6 separate regions of the Homo sapiens genome follow, and regions 1, 2, 3, 4 and 5 are each linked to region 6. The links are contacts of gene promoters, found by promoter capture Hi-C in blood cells and fetal thymus (Javierre and others, 2016). All regions are on one chromosome and are shown on one strand. Each heading gives the region's core, a stretch centred on a gene start or on the middle of the fragment in contact. The rest is flanking DNA. Distances are from core to core; before and after follow the strand shown. Region 1 overlaps CKAP5 (cytoskeleton associated protein 5). Region 2 overlaps LRP4 (LDL receptor related protein 4). Region 3 overlaps CKAP5 (cytoskeleton associated protein 5). Region 4 overlaps CKAP5 (cytoskeleton associated protein 5). Region 5 holds the start of LRP4 (LDL receptor related protein 4). Region 6 holds the start of MADD (MAP kinase activating death domain).

What was found. The method cuts DNA at HindIII sites, captures the fragments that hold promoters and counts their contacts. A CHiCAGO score of 5 or more calls a contact.
Region 1: a contact is called between a fragment that was not itself captured here and the fragment with the promoter of MADD in region 6, in 1 of 17 cell types (megakaryocytes). The highest score is 5.0, in megakaryocytes.
Region 2: a contact is called between a fragment that was not itself captured here and the fragment with the promoter of MADD in region 6, in 2 of 17 cell types (M0 macrophages and M1 macrophages). The highest score is 7.1, in M0 macrophages.
Region 3: a fragment that was not itself captured here is called in contact with the fragment with the promoter of MADD in region 6 in 2 of 17 cell types (megakaryocytes and erythroblasts); the score reaches 7.2 in megakaryocytes.
Region 4: a fragment that was not itself captured here is called in contact with the fragment with the promoter of MADD in region 6 in 1 of 17 cell types (megakaryocytes); the score reaches 6.2 in megakaryocytes.
Region 5: a contact is called between the fragment with the promoter of LRP4 here and the fragment with the promoter of MADD in region 6, in 2 of 17 cell types (fetal thymus and naive B cells). The highest score is 7.1, in fetal thymus.

The regions. Positions count from the first base shown.
Region 1 is chr11:46,762,852-46,765,946 of GRCh38, reverse strand. It overlaps CKAP5 (cytoskeleton associated protein 5), which reads left to right. Exons shown (of 44, transcript NM_001008938.4): 28 at 691-816; 29 at 2,317-2,466; 30 at 2,768-2,971. Among named protein-coding and RNA genes, the nearest start is that of SNORD67, 1.9 kb to the right of the region's middle. The HindIII fragment of the contact is 1,059 bases long and covers 1,095-2,153 here.
Region 2 is chr11:46,855,534-46,858,899 of GRCh38, reverse strand. LRP4 (LDL receptor related protein 4) reads left to right here. Exons shown (of 38, transcript NM_002334.4): 38 at 1-2,183. All of the region lies in intron 2 of LRP4-AS1 (LRP4 antisense RNA 1), which reads right to left. Among named protein-coding and RNA genes, the nearest start is that of LRP4-AS1, 11 kb to the right of the region's middle. The HindIII fragment of the contact is 2,101 bases long and covers 892-2,992 here.
Region 3 is chr11:46,811,002-46,814,024 of GRCh38, reverse strand. CKAP5 (cytoskeleton associated protein 5) reads left to right here. Exons shown (of 44, transcript NM_001008938.4): 5 at 2,847-3,018. Among named protein-coding and RNA genes, the nearest start is that of CKAP5, 34 kb to the left of the region's middle. The HindIII fragment of the contact is 1,761 bases long and covers 455-2,215 here.
Region 4 is chr11:46,783,058-46,786,421 of GRCh38, reverse strand. CKAP5 (cytoskeleton associated protein 5) reads left to right here. Exons shown (of 44, transcript NM_001008938.4): 17 at 1,749-1,934; 18 at 3,054-3,148. Among named protein-coding and RNA genes, the nearest start is that of SNORD67, 22 kb to the right of the region's middle. The HindIII fragment of the contact is 231 bases long and covers 1,766-1,996 here.
Region 5 is chr11:46,917,029-46,919,958 of GRCh38, reverse strand. It overlaps LRP4 (LDL receptor related protein 4), which reads left to right and starts at 1,409. Exons shown (of 38, transcript NM_002334.4): 1 at 1,409-1,631. The coding sequence starts at 1,580. RefSeq lists enhancers at 680-1,184, 2,348-2,930 and silencers at 1,245-1,474, 1,485-1,664, 1,675-1,844. The HindIII fragment of the contact is 10,743 bases long and covers 1-2,930 here.
Region 6 is chr11:47,268,785-47,271,767 of GRCh38, reverse strand. It overlaps MADD (MAP kinase activating death domain), which reads right to left and starts at 1,635. Exons shown (of 37, transcript NM_001376571.1): 1 at 1,522-1,635. It overlaps NR1H3 (nuclear receptor subfamily 1 group H member 3), which reads right to left. Exons shown (of 10, transcript NM_005693.4): 10 at 2,735-2,983. MADD-AS1 (MADD antisense RNA 1) reads left to right here. Exons shown (of 3, transcript NR_120569.1): 2 at 627-689; 3 at 788-1,111. RefSeq lists enhancers at 1,576-1,870, 2,344-2,453 and silencers at 1,344-1,873, 2,084-2,193. The HindIII fragment of the contact is 13,444 bases long and covers 1-2,983 here.

The DNA.
Region 1 (3,095 bases), core at 375-2,874, 510 kb after region 6:
ACATTTAAATATCAATGGAAAGAAACAGAAAAGCTTTCAAACTAAGTGTTTGGAAATGTGTAAATGCCATTCAAGATGTCATTAATGGCTGAGGTGGGTGGATCACTTGAGGTCAGGAGCTCGAGACCAGCCTGGACAACATGGTGAAACCCTGTCTCTACTAAAAATACAAAAATTAGCCAGGGGTGGTGGTGGGCGCCTTTGGTCCCACCTACTGAGGAGGCTGAGTCAGGAGAATCACTTGAACCTAGGAGGTGGAGATTGCAGTGAGCTGAGATCACGCCACTGCACTCCAGCCTGGGCGACAGAGTGAGACTCCGTCTCAAAAAAAAAAAAAAAAAAAAAAAGATGTCATTAATATGGAAAGCTATAAATAGTGTTGAAGATTTCAAGAAAACAAAAACAAAAAGTTTGTGACCTAGACTAATGATCAGTAATAGCAGTTTTTCCAACTACATAACATGCCAGTCCAAGAACTAACCAACAGTTACTTAAGAATATTCTCAGAAAAATTTCTAGAGAACCTGTTCAAAAACATATACAAGATTCTGTGATGCATGTTTTTTTCATGTGAAATATCACGTAGAAAGATATCTCTGTTTTCTACAGTGCCCTTTTACTGGGCAGCAGCATCATATTCTTAAGGAGAAGTGGCCAAGCTAATCAGTATTCCCTGAACCTTGGTTGTAGAGTGCACAAGGGAAGAAGATGCCAAGCAAAACCAGCTTAAAGGAGGATGAAGACAAATCCGGGCCTATTTTTATTGTTGTTCCAAATGGAAAAGAGCAAAGGATGAAAGATGAAAAAGGATTGAAGGTAAGGAAGGATTAAGAATCGTCAGGAGATTTTTGCTTGTATTGTTATTCAAGAATAGTTTTGCTGTCTGAATTCATGTTATTGTTTAATATCTAGGAATTAAGTGTTTCTTTTGCTTATAAATTATATTATTTAGTTTATGGGAGCATTAATTCCTACAAAAGAAACTATAGAATAGAGTTATTGCCTATTTTTCCCTGTAAATAGAAATAAATGATTTAGTAGCTTTTTTGGTATCTTCATTGATTTTTTTTTTTAATTAATTGGATGTATAAGCTTCTTCATTAATCCTTCTTTTTAAGACCTTACAAGGCAGACTTTGTGACTGTATAAATGGCTAGTTCAGTCATTTATGTTACTTTGATTTCATTAGATACTTAAATTTGTTTTCAAAATACATAATCTTTTTTAAAAATTATATGCAGTACAGAAAGTGCAAAGTATAGTAAGAAAAGCATGTCTCTGTTCCAGTATCCCTCCACAGGGAGGATATTAGTCCTCATTTTTTCAATGTATTACTCCAGAAATATTTTATACCTCTACTATCATATGTATATTTTTATATAGCCCTCCTTTTATACAGATGGCATATACAGACATGCCGTACTGTTTGTTCTGTATCTCACTATTTTCTTTTAATGATGTTTGAAATATCTGAAAGATCATTCGTATCTGTGTATATATGTGTGTATCACTGTTTGTATTGGTGCATTGTATGTATGTACCTTTCTTTATCCTTCGCCCACTATGTTGGACATTTAGGTTGTTTCTGGTCTTTCACTATTACAAACACTGCTGCTGTGAATATCTTTGAATGTAGGTCTTTGTACACATATGTGAGTGTATCTATATTAAACTCCTAGAATGATGATATGCATAATTTTGATAGATATTTCAAATTTTCTCTCTATCAAAGATGTGGCAGCAGTGTCCACCATGTTATATAGTTATATGTAGGATTAATTTTTTTTTTTTCTTTAGTAAGAATTGCAAGGCCAGGCACAGTGGCTCATGCCTGTCATCCCAACAATTTGGGAGGCTAAGGCAGGCAAATTGCCTGAGCCCAGGAATTCAAAACCAGCCTGGACAACATATTGAGACTTCATCTCTACGAAAAAAATTTTTTAATTAGCTGGGCATAGTGGTGCATGTCTGTAGTCCCAGCTACTTGGGGGGCTAAGGCAGAAGAATCACTTGAGCCTGGGAGGTTAATGCTACAGTGATCTATGATCATGCCACTGCACTCTGCCATGCCCAGGCAACAGGTGAGACTCTGTCTCAAAAACAAACAATTCCAAAAATTTTTATTCCTAGAAGATTTTCAGAGTTGTTAAGCTTCAAGAAGTATGACACCTTGAAATTTGCATTCATATTTAATTACAAATGAATATTGTTGAATTTTTAAATATTTTATTGTTCCTGCAGCTGCATTATATAAGGCTCTCTACCTCATTTCAGTTGAACACCCTGTAGCCCCTTTTCACCGTTTGTTTTTTCCAGGTGCTAAAGTGGAATTTTACTACCCCACGGGATGAATACATTGAGCAACTAAAGACTCAAATGTCTAGCTGTGTGGCTAAATGGTTACAAGATGAGATGTTTCACTCAGACTTTCAGCATCATAACAAAGCCCTTGCTGTTATGGTTGATGTAAGTCTGCAATAGATAAATATACATGTATTTCAGACATGTAAAAATACCGAGCCCTATGAAATAATCTGAAGTTTGCATGACTTGGAAGTAGAATATACTATGTTCTCTATTTTTAGAGCTGTCTTGTTATTTGGTAGAATAAATGAATGTGTGTGTATATTTTTTAGGTCTTAATTGAAGGCTTAAAAATCTGTCATTTTCTTTTTGGGCTCCAATAAAATTTAAAAGACACTTGCCTAGTAGAATTAAGATTTTGATTATTCTTATTTGTGGGAGTTTTGTTTTGTTTTATTTTAAGCACTTGGAGAGTGAAAAAGAAGGAGTTATTGGTTGCCTGGATCTTATCTTAAAGTGGCTTACCCTGAGGTTTTTTGACACCAATACAAGCGTCCTGATGAAAGCACTAGAATATTTAAAATTGCTCTTCACCTTGCTAAGTGAAGAAGAATATCATCTTACTGAGAATGAAGCATCTTCCTTCATCCCCTATCTTGTCGTCAAGGTAATGTGGTGTTCTCTCTCTGGGAGACTGCTTAAGTTCCCAGCTGACCTCAGTTTCTGTACTTTTATTTCCTCTCCCTTTTTTACTGATTATATCACGGTACCTTCCCTACTTATCCCTATTT
Region 2 (3,366 bases), core at 693-3,192, 410 kb after region 6:
GCTTCTGTGTGCTTGTCCTCCTCCTCCTCCCACCCCATAACTGTTCCTAAGCCTTCACCGGAGCTGTTTACCACGTGAGTCCATAACTACCTGTGCACAAGAAATGATGGCACATCACGAGAATTTAGACCTGGATTTTACCATGAACCTCACATCTTGTACTCCATCCTGGGCCCCCTGAAACTGCTTATTCGTGATTCCTCACCAGCGTAGAGCTCCACCTCCCCTTTCCCCAGTACCCTCAGTGCCTGCTTCTCAGTGCTGATGCAGCTGATGACCCAGGACTGCGCTCTGCCCCATCACAGCCAGCATGACTGCTTCTCTGAGAGAACTTGCCCATCAGGGGCTGGGACATGGGGGTGTGGGTAAAGACAGGGATGAAGGATAGAGGCTGAGAGAAGAAGGAAGAATCAGCCCAGCAGGTATGGGCATCTGGGAAACCTCCAGCCTCAAGTGTGTTAGTAACATGAAAAAGCTTTGGGGGGTAGTTGGATCTGGGTGTCTGGTCCATTGCTGGCAGTGGACATTATTCTTGCCCTAAGAGACACTGCCTTTTCAGCAGCAGATACTGGTGAGATGGGGGTGGCTCAGGCTGTTCTTCCTCCTCCTAGAATGTCTGGAGCTGTTTCTACATTCAGATAACTGGGTCCCCTATCACAAGGCTACTGGCTAATAGGAATTCCCTCCTGGTGCCACCACTGGCCAGTACCTTTCCTAAGTCTTTGCTCAAATTAACCAGGTTGTGAGCCAGTGGCTTGAGTGAATGTTAGGCCTTGGGGGCTGAGTCTCTGAAAAGTCTAAGAAGCTCTGCCTAGACCAAATATGGTATACCTCCTGACCCCTCTCTCCCTCATGTCCTGGGATTCTGGGGAAGAGACCTAGAAACAAGCTTTCAAAGAAAAACCAGAAGTTGTCATAAATGGTCAGAAAGAACGATCAGGTTGGAGACTTGGGAAACCCAGGGCCTAAAGAGAAGTATCCATGAGGGTCAAACTTCCTGTTGAACTTCCTATGTTCTTTCTCAAGTGCTCAGGGATCTAAGTTAGTGGACAGCAAGCCTGTGGCTACGGGGTGGTGATGTTCCTCTTCCAGCTGTCCCCTCAGCTAAGGGGCTTAGTTTCCATGTGGGATGCCATCACTTGGTTCATGCTCATTCACACAAAGGGCACGTGTCTCAGCCTGGTATCAGGGAAATTGAGACTTATTTTTGCCCTAAAACGTCTCCCTAGCTGTTCTTCGTGGGGTTTTTTTGTTTGTTTTTTTGCCTAATTTGCTTTTTCTGACCAAGCCTTGTGGCACCAGCAATCTCCAAAGTCCTGTGGTGGGAGGGCTGAATAAATAAAAATACAAAGAGGTGGGTAAGGAGTAGGAAGGTAGAGAGCACCACTGATGAGGCCCTCCTAGCCCATGGCAGACCCAGACCTCTTCTCCCCCAGGAATTAGAAGTGGCAGGAGAGAACAACAGGGGCTGGGAATGGAGGGGAGAATTTCTAGGGGAAGTTTCCTGAGTTGAAACTTCTCCTGTGGTTACTGGTATTGAGAAATCAGCTACCAAAGTGAAAAAGGACAAGATCAATTCTTTTCTAGTCAGTTCTAAGACTGCTAGAGAGAGATACCAGGCCCTTAGCCTTGCTCTCAGTAGCGTCAGCCCCAGTTCTGAGCCTCCCCACATTACACTTAACAAGCAGTAAAGGAGTGAGCACTTTGGGTCCTTAGACTCACGTCTGGGGAGGAAGAGCAAGTAGAAAAGTGGCATTTTCTTGATTGGAAAGGGGGAAGGATCTTATTGCACTTGGGCTGTTCAGAATGTAGAAAGGACATATTTGAGGAAGTATCTATTTGAGCACTGATTTACTCTGTAAAAAGCAAAATCTCTCTGTCCTAAACTAATGGAAGCGATTCTCCCATGCTCATGTGTAATGGTTTTAACGTTACTCACTGGAGAGATTGGACTTTCTGGAGTTATTTAACCACTATGTTCAGTATTTTAGGACTTTATGATAATTTAATATAAATTTAGCTTTTCTTAATCACCTTGCCTGGCTTGGAGTCATGACTAATCCTGCACCTGCTCTGTCTGGCAGACCCATGCTGTGGAAAACCTGCTTACAGACATCACTTTTAAGTCCTTTGTGGATGTGGGCACAGTGAAGAGCAATAAAGAGTGTGAGGTTCCTGCTGGAGTTTTCAGCTCATCTGGAGAAGACAGGTCGAGGCCAGAGTTCCTTGACTGATGAAACCTTTATTTCCTCTGGAAGAGGAATGGTAGATGGGTTTCCTCTTGAGTGCTGACTCTGACTGGTTGGTAGTGGCTGCCTGAGGGCCTATTCGCACCCAATGGGAAGAATGTCATATGGCTAGTGACATCTCTTCTGTGCACTGGAAGGAAATGTCATGGCATGTATACCATGTATCTTCTATTTCTGTTCTAGGTCTTTGTTACAGAACTTTACTTTGCCTTGCAGTGATGGTCACTGGCAAGACTATCTCATGTAGTAAGAAAAGTACTGGAGCTGGGGACATGGAGGGCTAATTCCAGTCCCAGATCTGCCACTAGCTCTGTTTGATCTTAGTCAACTTTCATAGTTAGTCTGAGAGTGGATCAAATTATCACTAGGATTTCATTTATTTTTAAAAGCTGTCTTTTCATAGCTCATCCACTACTTCTCAAGGCTAGAACAAGGAGCTAGGGATCCCTTCTCAGGTTCTCTGGATGTGATATCCCTCAGTGAAAACTGGGAATCATGTTAATCTCAACGCCCGATGTAGAATTTCATGTCAAGTCTCAATAGTTGATTTTCTAAACCACACACCATCTATAGGATAATATCCCCATTCATTCATTCATTCATTCATTCATTCATCTGCTATGGGCTAGGCACTGCCCATGCCTAAACAAAGACATAATCTTACAGAGCTTAGAGTCTAGCAACACCATTACCACCACCATCCCAAAAAAAGACAAAAAATGAAAGTAAGAAAGACTGAAGCTTCTTGTATTTAAGTGACCAGAGATCTGAGTATAAGCTACAGTGTATAATTTTTCTAACTGTAGTAAGGAGTAGGTGTGCCAGAACAAAAACAAGTAGAATAGCCCAAGGATAACCATCCCTCCAACCCCCACTGTTCTCTTTGGGAGGGAAAAAAAAAGCAGAAAAGGAGGACATCTTGGGATAAAACAAAGGTTGGGAATTCCTTGTCTAGTTCTCTGGTATAAAATCTGAAACTAGGGTCAGGCACAGTGGCTACACCAAAGTAATCTCACCACTTTGGGAGGCCAAGACAGAAGTAAGGAGTATTGCTTGAGGCCTGGAGTTCACGATCAGCCTGGGCAACATGACAGGACCATATCTCTACAAAAAAATT
Region 3 (3,023 bases), core at 86-2,585, 460 kb after region 6:
GAGTAGCTGGGACTACAGGTGAGCACCACCACACCCAGCTAATTTTTTTTTTCTTTAATAGAGATGGGTTTCTCCATGTTGGTCAGGCTGGTCTGGAACTCCTGGCATCAAGTGATCCCACCTCGGCCTCCCAAAGTGCTGGGATTACAGACATAAGCAACCGCACCTGGCCTATAATCTTCTACCTTTAAATTACAAGTTTCTAGTCTGGAGTGCTGTGTACTCTGGTTATTTCATTTTTTAGCTAAACTGGGAGAATAAGGGTAGGAAAATAACAAGTTACGTATATCTCATGTTTTCTTCATAGATGTTGTTATGTAGTCCCATCCCTGTGTGGTTCTTTATTTGTCCTAAAGCATTTCAGAGTCTATAGTTTAACTAGGTAGCTCTCTGGGACCCTCAAGAACCTTGAGGCCAAACTGCTTGATCCTGGGTTCCAGAGCTTGCTAAAGCTTTGTTAGTGAGAGCTTCAGGTGACCAGAAACATTTGTGGTACCTAAAACAGGTTTCTAGTACCCTTTTGTGTTTTCTATAGTAATACGTTTAGTATCAAAATTAGGTTTTATTTTATTAAGGTGTCTATTTTCCATGTGGACTTGCTCCATCTTTTTTTTCTTACAGAAGGAGGCCAGGATAGAGAAAAAAGATTCAGATGAAACAGTAATAATATATAGGAAGATTTAAGAAATCTCAAATGTTAGGTTCTTCAGGCACCATGTTAAATATCCCTAAAACAAAATGGTTTATTGCCACTATAATTTCTTATTTTTTGTTTAATCTTAAAGGTCAGCTGAGCCAAGTTAAAATGTAATTTTTTTAATAATATAAAAGCATTTTAAAAAATCTTAGAGATTATGTAGGTTATTCTCATGATATTTGTACTTAAACTATATCACATAGCCAGGTATCTTATTAAAAATTCTTTTTTTATTGTGCCTGTAGTCCCACCAACTCAGGAGGCAGGAAGATTACTTGAGCCCAGGGGGTGAGGCTGCTGTGAGCTATGATTGTGTCACTGTACTCCAGCCTGGTTAACAGAGTGAGACACTATCTCAAAAATAATAATAATAATTAAGGCCAGGAGCAGTGGCTCATGCCTGTATTGTCCCAGCACTTTGGGTTGGGAGGCTGAGGCAGGCAGATTGCCTGAGCCCAGGAGTTCAAGACCAGCCTGGGCAACAAGGAGAAACCCCGTCTCTACAAAAAATACAAAAAAAAAATTAGCCGGGCATGGTGGTGCCCCTCTGTAGTCTCAGCTGCTTGGGGGACTGAGTCTGGAGAATAGCTTGAGCAGGGAAGGTCGAGGCTGCAGTGAGCTGTGATCATACCACTGCATTCCAGCCTGGATGACATAGTGAGACCCTGTCTCCAAAAAAGTAAAAACAAAAACCAAGAAAAAAAAATCGTTGGAGTACACTAGTAGCTATTACTGAGTAATTTTGTTGCATTTGCTCACATGAGATAAATTTGTGCACATTAGATAATAGATAAATAATAATTTGGGTCCTACTACTCATACAGAATTTCAGTGTTCTTTCATAAATAAATCTCTCCTGCTCCAGAATCTGATACTCACAAATGTTAATAGTGATATTAGATAGCTAAAATTGGCCAGTTGGGAACTTGAAAATGTAATCTATGACAGATATGTAAGGTTAAACACACTTTTTTTTAATTTTATTTTTTTTTTGAGACGGAACCTTGCTCTGTTGCCCAGGCTGGATGGAGTGCAGTGGCGCGATCTCGGCTCACTGCAACCTCTGCCTCCCGGGTTCAAGCGATTCTTCCACCTCAGTCTCCCAGGTAGCTGGGATTACAGGCGCCCACTATCGTGCCTGGCTAATTTTTGTATTTTTGTAGAGACAGGGTTTCACCATGTTGGCCAGGCTGGCCTTGAACTTCTGACCCCAGGTGATCTACCTGCCTCAGCCTCCCAAAGTGCCGGGATTATAGGTGTGAGCCACTGCGCCTGGCCAAATATGCTTTTTGAAAGAAGTCAAAATGCAACATTTTCCCCATAGAAAACTGAAGTAAAGAAAGATTTAAGATGCCCAGAGTTATAGTGTGATAGCCACAAAGTCAGGAACAAAATATTGCCAAGATTTGTGATCTATCTAGGTAAATGAATCACTTTAATTATAGGAGCTATTAAAGGTTTATTAAAAGTAGATTTCATTCATGTAAATATTTATAAACTAGTTTATATTTGTAAGCTTTTATATGTATATACATACATATTTGTGGTATTAGGCTGGGTGTGGTGGCTCACGCCTGTAATCCAGCACTTTAGGAGGCTGAGGCGGGTGGATCACCTGAAGTCAGGAGTTCCAGACCAGCCTGGCCAACATAGTGAAACCCCATCTCTACTAAAAATACAAAAATTTGCTGGGCGTGGTGGCGCATGCCTGTAACCCCAGCTACTTGGGAGACTGAGACAGGAGAATCACCTGAACTCAGGAGGCAGAGGTTGCAGTGAGCTGCAATCATGCCATACCACTCTAGCCTGGGCAACAAGAGCAAAATGCCATCTGAAAAAGAAAAAAAAAGGGTATTAAACATGTTGATCCTTTATAGGTTTTAATTATTCCTAGTCTGCTTACCTAGAAAGTTTGTTTAAAAATGGTAATATTATTTTGGGCCCTACACATTAAATAATATTCTTAGAAGAACAACACCTTAGTAGGTAAGCAGTTATGAGTTCCTTTTCTTTTGTTGCCTTAAAAAAAACTGAACTTATATAATTCTTCTAATATGTAGATATGGAACTATGTTTGAATGAAGAAAAGCTAATGCTTTATTTAATTGCATTGCACGTTGACAGTTTTTTCCCAATTTTTTACTTGTAGTGAATTTGGTTCCAAAATCATCTTGCTTAAGCCAATTATCAAAGTGTTGCCAAAACTCTTTGAGTCTCGAGAGAAGGCTGTTCGAGATGAAGCCAAACTAATTGCTGTGGAGATTTACAGATGGATTCGGGATGCTCTGAGACCCCCATTACAAAATATAAACTCTGTTCAGGTGAG
Region 4 (3,364 bases), core at 632-3,131, 490 kb after region 6:
CCAGACAAGACAGTACTTTGGGTCAAAACTTTTTGAGGAGGTCCAAACCTGAGCTGTCCCCCCACCTGCCAGTGGCTGCACAGCTCTAGGTTTTCATAGTTGCCATGGTTACAAGACTTCAGGTTTTGAAGGCTACTGTGGAGCTGGAAGAAAAGGGGAGCAAGGCAAGTTAAATCACCAGAAACCTCACTGTCCTTACTAAAATTCAGCATCCTTTCTTTAAATGGTTCTTGTATGTTACAAGCCTTATTTAATTTTCAGAGTTGTGAGATAAGTTGATTTGGATAGTTTTTGCCAGTGTTCTTTGTTGCTTTTGAGGAAGATCAGTTTTTCAGAGGTATTGACTCCACAATTGCAGAAGTCCCACCCAAGATAATTACATTTCTTTGGTTTGTTTTTTGGTTTGGGAATTTTTTTTTTAATTTTTTAAATTTTTATTTTTTCACATGCCTGCTATGTCAAATTTTGGGGGTTTGAGACAAAGTCTCACTCTCTTGCCCAGGCTAGATAGTGCAGTGGTGTCAACATGTCTCTCTGCAGCTTCAGCCTCCTGGGTTCAAGTGATCCTCCCACCTCAGCCTCCCAAGTAGCTGGGACTACAGGCGAGGGCCACCATACCCAACTAATTTTTGTACTTGTTGTAGAGCTGGGGTCCCTCCATATTGACCAGGCTGGTCTTGAACTCCTGGGCTCAAGCATTCCCCTCGACTCAACCTACCAAAGTGCTGGGATTACAGGCATGAGCCAGGCGATAATTGCATTTTAAAAGAGGATGTTTGTGTGGCTGGGCACAGTGGCTCACGCCTGTAATCCCAGCACTTGGAGAGGCTGAGGTGAGATCCCACTTGAGATCCACTTGAGGTCAGGAGATCGAGACCAGCCCGGCCAACATGGTGAAACCTCATCTCTACTAAAAATACAAAAATGAGCCAAGCGTGGTGGCGGGCGCCTGTAAGTAATCCCAGCTACTTGCGAGGCTGAGGCATGAGAATCGCTTGAACCCAGGAGGCAGAGGTTGCAGTAAGCTGATATCTCACCACTGCACTCCAGCCTGGGTGACAGAACAAGATTCTGTCAAATAAATACATAAATAAATGGGAGTATTTGTCACCTAAATTAATCTGTATAATAGGATTTCTAGTGGCGTAACAAAAAAAGTTAAAATATTCACACAGTACAAAGAAAAATATTTATGAGCAAAGGGGTCCTTAATCCCATAGGTCTGCCATCACAATAATATCTTTAAATTATTTTCCACAGATCTTTTTATTCTTATACTTAAAAGCCAACAAGTTCTCTAAAATCTCTGAAGTTCTGTGTTGCATGTGTGTATAAGAGGGTTGTAGTGTTTTTGTAGGCAGCCCTAGTAGTAATTCTCAGTTATGCAGTCAGTATAGTAATTTATTGTGTATTTTAGGGTGTGTATTCAGTACTAAATGCAAATAATCATAAGAGGAGGAAAATTTAAAAATCAGATTTTTCAATTAATAAACTTTCTGTGCAATATTACTTGTTAGTATTTTGGAACACTGAGTAGCTTTTTTTCCCTCTCTTCACTGTCAGTTAAGTAATTGGTAACAATTAAAGGATACAAATTATTTTGCATATTTGTTTAAAATCCTGATTTTACTTTAGTTGTGTTTCCAGCTGTCCCTAACCATGTCATATCTGTTACATGCTGTTAATACAAGTAAATAAATAAATGTCCTTGGCTTGCTCTTAGCTTTATGATACTGATCCTTGTTCAGGTGATGCAAATGAAGCTTCATATAGTTGCTTTGATTGCCCAGAAGGGAAATTTTTCCAAAACGTCAGCTCAGGTTGTATTAGATGGCCTTGTGGACAAGATTGGAGATGTGAAATGTGGGAACAATGCAAAAGAAGCTATGACAGCAATAGCCGAAGCCTGTATGTTACCATGGACTGCTGAACAGGTTAGTGACACAGAAGTCTTATTCCTCTAGTTTTCCCAATTTTTTCCCCCAAACTTTAAGCTTACTAATTAAACATTAGTTTTTATCTTCTCAAGTAAAATCTTTTTTGATACTGCATTTTTTTTGAGATGGAGTTTCACTCTGTCGCCCAGGCTGGAATGCAATGGTGCAATCTCGGCTCACTGCAACCCTCCCGGGTTCAAGTGATTCTCCTGCTTCAGCCTCCCGCATAGCTGGGATTACAGGCACCTGCCACCACGCCTGCCTAATTTTTGAATTTTAATAGAGACAGGATTTCGCCACGTTGGCCAGGCTTGTCTCGAACTCCTGACCTCAGGTGATCTGCCTGCCTCGGCCTCCCAAAGTGCTGGGATTACAGGTGTGAGCCACCATGCCCGGCCCTTTGATACTGCATTTTTATTTTTACCTTAAAAAATACTCTATTGCCTAGTGATGAAAATTCATCTTAGTCAAAAATATTCGGTCAGACACAGAGGCTCACACCTGCAATCCCAGCACTTTGGGAGGCCGAGGCAGGAGGATGACTTGAGGCCAGGAGTTTGAGAGCAGCCTGGCCAACATGGTGAAATCCCGTCTCTACCAAAAATACAAAAATTAGCCAGGCGTGGTGGTGCACACCTGTAATGCCAGCTACTAGGGAGGCTGAGGCAGGAGAATCACTTGAACCTGGGAGACAGACGTGGCAGTGAGCCGAGATCACGCCACTGTACTCCAGCCTGGGCAACAGAGTGAGACTGTCTCAAAACAAATAAACAAAAAATTCTATAGAAGGTGAAAGCCCACGAGCTTGAGGCTGCAATGATTGATGATTGTGCCACTGTACTCCTGGGTGACAGAGCAAGACCCTGTCTCTAAAAAAAAAAAAAAAACATTATAATGCAGAGTAATTGCTGCAAAGCTATAAATAGTCCAGAATGCCTTTAGTCCTACTATCATTTCACCTCATTTTCTTGTGTAGGTTCACTCTTGTTCCTAAGGCATTCTTGCAGTTGTTTTAGCGTCAGAAAACTAGTTTAATGCACATCTGCCTTAATGTCATGCTGTATTTCTATAAGAAATACGAGATAAAACACAGATCTGCTGTTTTTCCCTTTTCAGGTTGTGTCAATGGCTTTCTCACAAAAGAATCCCAAAAATCAGTCAGAAACTCTGAATTGGCTATCAAATGCCATAAAAGAATTTGGTTTTTCTGGGTAAGTCAGAACGAAATCAAGTGGAAAATAGTTAAATGTTCTGTCAGTCTCTAAGTCGTGCTGTTTATAATAATAGCTATTGCTGTTTATTTCTGAAGAGTGAGAGCTGGATTGTCTCATTTATATAAAAGAAAATTACCTTTGTTCTCAAAGGTCTATATTGGCTTGTGTTCCTGCTTTTTGATGTTCACTGAAAGAGTTCTCTACGTTATTTTT
Region 5 (2,930 bases), core at 160-2,659, 350 kb after region 6:
TAAAAATTTCAGGCAAAACGATATAGAAAACTACTGCCTAACAAGGAGTTAACACCTTACATCTTTTATGTTGTTGTTGTTGCTGTCGCAAAGTATGGTTCATGTTAGCTTTGGTAAAAGATGGTAATTTGAAGTGAAAGTACTGAAAAAAACAAGCAAGGATGAAATGTCAATGTATCCATTTAGAGAAATCTAATAACCACTTTGCACTATGCCAAATTACTTTCCCCTCAGCTAACAGGGGGCATTTGGGTCTTCCTGACTCTATTTACTGGTGAGGAAAGTGAGTTAATGAAATCCATAGATGATCCAAGCCCAAGAAATGCTGGCATATCAGCTGGGAGGGAAAAAAGCGATATACTGGGCCATCAGAAAGTTGGGCATTTGGGCAAAAGGAACAAAACAAGATTCAACCTGGAAAAATGGAAGGTGGTGAAATTAATCCGTATTATTAATATGCATTAGGGAGAGTAGACCACAAAAGGAAGGAAGACTAGAGACAAGTTTATGATTTTATGCAGTAAATCAAAAGTTAAATCTGAGGGAAGGACCTACAGACTGGGGCTGGAAGGAGGCTGAGGGCTTTGTGGGAGTGCAGCTGCCCATGAGGACTCCTTTCCTGACCCCCTCCCTTCCTTGTCAGGATCAGAAAGTCAAAGAAGGTGAAGAGGCTAACAACAGTGATTTACAAAGACAGCAAGGAGGAACTAAGTCTGTATGGGCCGAATCTGGGCCTCTGAGCTGGAGCAACAGGACCCAGACAACCATCTCAGGAAATGAGTGAATGAAAAGGGGCGGGGGGGTCGGTGAATTATTTAGCCCTAGAACAACGCTGCCTAGACCGGGGGAGGCCAGGGAGAAGAAAATCTCCGAAAAGGAATTTTGACAGTGAGAACGCCAGTTAAGATACAGCACTCCAGGCCCCCTGATGTCCCTTGTTTGATGTCAATAAAGACCCAAGAGGATTATGCATCCACAAGCCTTGCGTATTCGCAGACATCAAAAAAGTCTGGACTTGGGGCCGGTAGGCGGGGGCAGGGTCACGTCCAGGCGACTTGGGTCAGCTCAGGTGCTCGTCTGAAGCATAGAGCTGGAGTGAGCGGGGGCGAGACTTGCTGCTAGGATAATTTTTTTTTTTTAAGTTAGGGAAATTTAAGCAGTAGTAATAGCGACAGGGAGGGGGCTCTCTCTCGGGCCAGGAATGTGGGGGCGGCCTGAGGAGGAGCGGGGCCCCGCGCAGGAGGCGCCGGCGGGTGGGGTCGGGGGACCAGGGAGCCGGGGCCGAGGGCGGGAAGGGGCCGGGCCGGCGCTGGGGGCGGGCCCAGGCGCGGTGGCGGTGGCCGGGGCTGCGGCGCGGGGGGCGGGGCGGTCGGGCCCGGGACACCCCCTCCCGGTCCCCTGGCGGGGCAGCGTCGGCTCTGGCAGCACTGGAGGCGGCGGCGGCCCGAGGGCGACTTGCGGGGCGCGCAGGCCGCCGTGCACCCGGGACGCTTCCCCCTCGGGGACCCTCCGCGGGCTTCTCCGCCGCGCCGTCCGGCGGGAGCCGGCGGGACCCCGGGCGAGCGGCGCGGGCGGCACCATGAGGCGGCAGTGGGGCGCGCTGCTGCTTGGCGCCCTGCTCTGCGCACACGGTAAGCGGCGCCCGCCGGGAAAGTTTGTCCCTGGGTCCGGCCGCTGCAGGACTCGCCTCCCGGGACCTGGACGGCGCGGGCCGGGGCCTGAGACCCCTCGCCCTCGCTCCTAGCCGTGGCCCTGGGGCTGCGTGCAGGGGAGAGGACCCGGAGCGGCCCCGGCTCCAGCAGTCCGAGCGGGGGCATCAGCGGAGGCGCTTCCGCGGGTTCGGGTCTGGGCCGGGGCGCGGGTCTGGGCCGGGGCGCGGGTAAGGTCCGGGGCGTTCGTTCGCTCGCCCTCCCTCGCTGCTCTTTCAAGAGCGGGGGCTGCTTCCCTTTCAGGTTAGGTCGGGGGCTCTGTGTCCTTGGTGCGAATGAATGCGTGCGAAGAAAGGGAGGCGGGTGAGGAGGGTCGCTAAACCCATAAATTGTAAATAGCCCTCCTTCCTGGGGCTGGGGGCTCGGGCGGGTTGCGGAGAGAGGCCCCGGTAGAATCTGGTACTTGGGCACCGGGATTCCTCTACTCGGAGAACGATTCCCGGACTCCAGGTCTTGCTCCCACCAAGGGGCTCTGGGGCACTGTTTGCGGGCAGCATCTCCCCTCGGCGGTGTTTCGGGGTCCCTCTCTTGGCTGCGGCCAGTCAGCTTCCAGCCCTGGATCGTCCTAAAGGGAGGTGGTTGGAAAGGGGGCTGAGGAGGAATATAGGGAAGAAACTGCTGGAAGGCTCCCGCAGATCTGCCCTGGCTGGGGTAGGGGGGCAGGGGGCCGGTAACCCTGAACCCCAGAAGGCAGCCGCCGGGCCCTCGCGGCAGGGTCCCAGCCCTCGGGGGAGCTGGACGGCTGCAGCAGGACTCCTTGGTGCCCGTACCCCCTGTTGTGTGGGACTAGGGCTCCGATGGAATCTGCTTCTCCGCGGGCTCTTAACGACCCTGGGTGCACCCCGTGATTGAGCAGCTTTCCCTAGTTTGTGCCCAGAGATCAAAGAACTTTGATCTTTGAACCCCAGCCCTATTCACCCATCGCTATTCATCGTGGCGGGAGTTCCGAGTCTCCCCATTTGCCTCGCAGCCCCGATGAAGGGAGCTGGGGCTCAGAATGGAGGGGTCTGGAGACCCTGCCTGGTCTTTTACCGGTTCTTTCTTTCACGTAGGACAGCTCGTGTGGAAAAAGTCAGTGCAGATTTCCGAACTTGCCTGGCAGGGCGTGGAGATGTCTAGGCACTCGTTTTAAAGATTGGTTTACCTCCCAAATCCAAAACAGAGTTTTCATGTCTCTTATTTAAACTACCTGTGGGTTTTCAGGGGCTTTTTTCCGCGTCC
Region 6 (2,983 bases), core at 386-2,885:
TATGTAGTTAACCTGTCATGGGATTCGAAAAAAAAAAAAGAATTATGTAGAAATGACTAGAGTGAGAGCCAAAGTATCTTAAAGTAAAACAGAATTTATAGAACCAGAGCTCTAGACTACACCTTGCAATCTATGTTTACATTGAAAACCCGGAGCCCTCTCCAACCAAAATCTCAAAGATCAGGCCTGAAGCACCTCCTACTGAGTACGCATCAGGCCTCTCTAGCCTTGGTGGGATCTCAGTCCCTCTCCACTGACAACTATCTGACGAAACTCAAGTCACTCACAATCATTTCCTTCCAGAGCCACAAGGACCCTGAGATCTTGTTATTATTCTAGCTACGGGTGGTAGGATAAATTTTTAGCCAGAGTTCACATCTGATCAGCAGCCACTGCCTTCAGTTATTCAGATTGCAAAGATAACTAAGATTTTCCTTCTCATTCTCTCCTCTCTCCCCTCCCCAAAAAGACTAACACCTTTAACTCCTCTAAAGACTAAATCCTCTAACATCACCCACAACTCACACTCTTGTCTTCACAACCAACGAGGCTCCGACTCTGCCTCTTGCCTCAACCATGTTTACTAACGTAGAGCCTCTGGTTCCTATCTTCCTGTATTCCAAAAGCATCCAGCTCAAAATGCATATCTATCTGCTGAAGTCCGACATCACCATCAGCTCCACCCAGAGGTAGATTTAGGATTCACAAACTTTTAAGTTATCTATGCCTTTTCAGCAGAAATAGCCATGCTAACCAACCCTTTGGATTCGTCCCTCATTTTGGACAGGATCTCACAGTAAAACCACAGGAACCAGAGAGCGATATGACATCTCTGCTGACGTGAACACAACAGGAGGCTCTCCTCCCCTCCTCTACCTCCCCAGGCAGTGACCTTGCAAGCTCATCAGCACAGACTGGTCCAGCGTATGGGAGAACTGGAGCAAGGAGGCTGGCAGCTGGCAGGGTTGGGGTAGAGGGGAGGGCAGGGAAAGGTGGAAGAAGGTAGATACACGAGGATGGGGAGGAGAGCGATTGCAGAAAGATGAAATGGTGTTCTCTCTCCAGCAAGTCAATTTTGAAATATCAAGTTAAAAAAAAAATTTCTTGAGAACCAAACGTGTTTCTCCAAATTCTAGCCAAAAATAAGGCGCAAGCACGCACACGCACAAGCACACCCGCCAAGCGCTGTGCGGGTTCGGCCCCAGGGCTGGCCAGCTCTGCCCGCCCCCTCACCTGCTGGACAGTTCTCCCCCGCCCCCGCCCCCGCCCCGAACCTGAACCCGAGCCGCCCGCTCGGCAGGAACCAAGCCCAGTAGCCTGAGCCCCCTCCTCTGCCCGGGGCGCCCCCATCCCCGTCCCCGCCCCTCCTCGGCAGACCCCCGTCCCCACGCCCCTTCACACTCCCCCAGGGCCTCCTGAGAGACCCCTTCCTCCAAGAGCCACGGTGTCCTCTCAGAGCCCGTCTCCCGCTCGGAGTCCCCAGACGCTCGCCCAGGACCCCACCGGCCCAGACTCTCCTACCTCCCAAGCTCTGGGGGACTGGCCAGGCCCAGCCCGACGTCCCCCGGCAGCGGGGCGTCAGTCGCTCCCCAGCGCGGCGCCGCTCCGAGCGGGCGCCAGTTCCGCGTCTGCACTGGGGGGCACGCACCACTCGCGCGGGGTGCGGAGGGGGAGGCCGGGGCCGGGGCCGTACCATTCAGCCCGGGGGGCCGGGGCTGCACCGAGCCGAGCGCCGCGGGGCGGGGCCGACCTCGGGAGACAGCGGCTGCGCACAGACCTAGCCTAGCGCCCGTGGGCGCGGGAGGGCGCGCCAGGCCGACCCAGCGCCGTCGCGTGCCAAGTGGGGGACCCACAGCAGTACCTTCTGTTTGGGTTGCTCAGAGAGACTCTCACCCGACGGGGTCATAGCGCCCGTTTCGACGACATGGGGATTCCTCTGAAAGTCACTTCCCAAGATAATCGGCCCCTGAGACTTCCTGACGGGCTCCCCATCCCCCAGTCCCCACCCCCCACTCACGCGCTTTGGCGGTGCTCGGCGTCCGAGCAGGGAAGCCGGCTGCCGAGCGGTGGAGCCTACCAATCCTGGGCAGCGGGGGCAGAGGGGGGCGCGCGGCCGCGGTTACCTCCACCGGGCGCGCGCGGGGAGTGGGGGGGCGTGGCCGCGCCGCGGCGCCCGCTGGGAGATGGAGTCCAGTCAGTCCGCGAGGACAGCCCCGCCTCAGGACATCCTCCCCGCGGCCACACGGCTCTTCTCTTCCTGTCCCAAAGGGCCTGGGGACCGACACTGGGTTCTAGGTCTTTCAGGTTGTGCCTTTTTCAGATGCCAAAGGAAAAACCAAGGCATGCTACACATGCACGTGAGGTGCACCGCCGACGCCTTAGCGCTGAAATCCAACACTTCCTCCTCCACCGCAGAAAGGCAACCGGATCCTACCCGGATCCCAGCAGGGGAAGGGGGCGCCTAAGCCTCAGCATTCCATTTACCCATATGGCGCAGTGGGGGTTAGTAAGAAGAGGCCCCCTCTCACGGCCAAGGCTGTCATTTGTGACTCTCCCTCCTCTGGGCCTGGAGGCGGATCCTAAAGATCGCAGGCTTCCTCCTCTATTACCGTGTCCCCACCCCCAATCCAGAAATTGGTTTCTCTCATTTTGTATTCATTTTGATCTTCCTGTTCAAACAGTACCAGACCTATCAGTGAGGCGGCGCTGAGGCATTTATGGCCATACCACAGAGTGACAGTGGAGAATTTTTCTTGGGGCCCTGTGGGAAAAACAGGAAGTGGTGGAGGCAGGATGGGCAGGGCTCTGGAGAACCCTGTGCAAAGTGGCCCCCAGGCCCATCCGTTTGTGGGGTCAGCATGATCTTCAGACACAGCACAGTGTTAGCGAGGGCTCCACTGCTCAGTAGCCACAAAACTCGCAACCCTTTGACTCTCTTTTAATGCCACGGGAGGATCTCCTTGCCCAGCTCCCAGGAATGTTT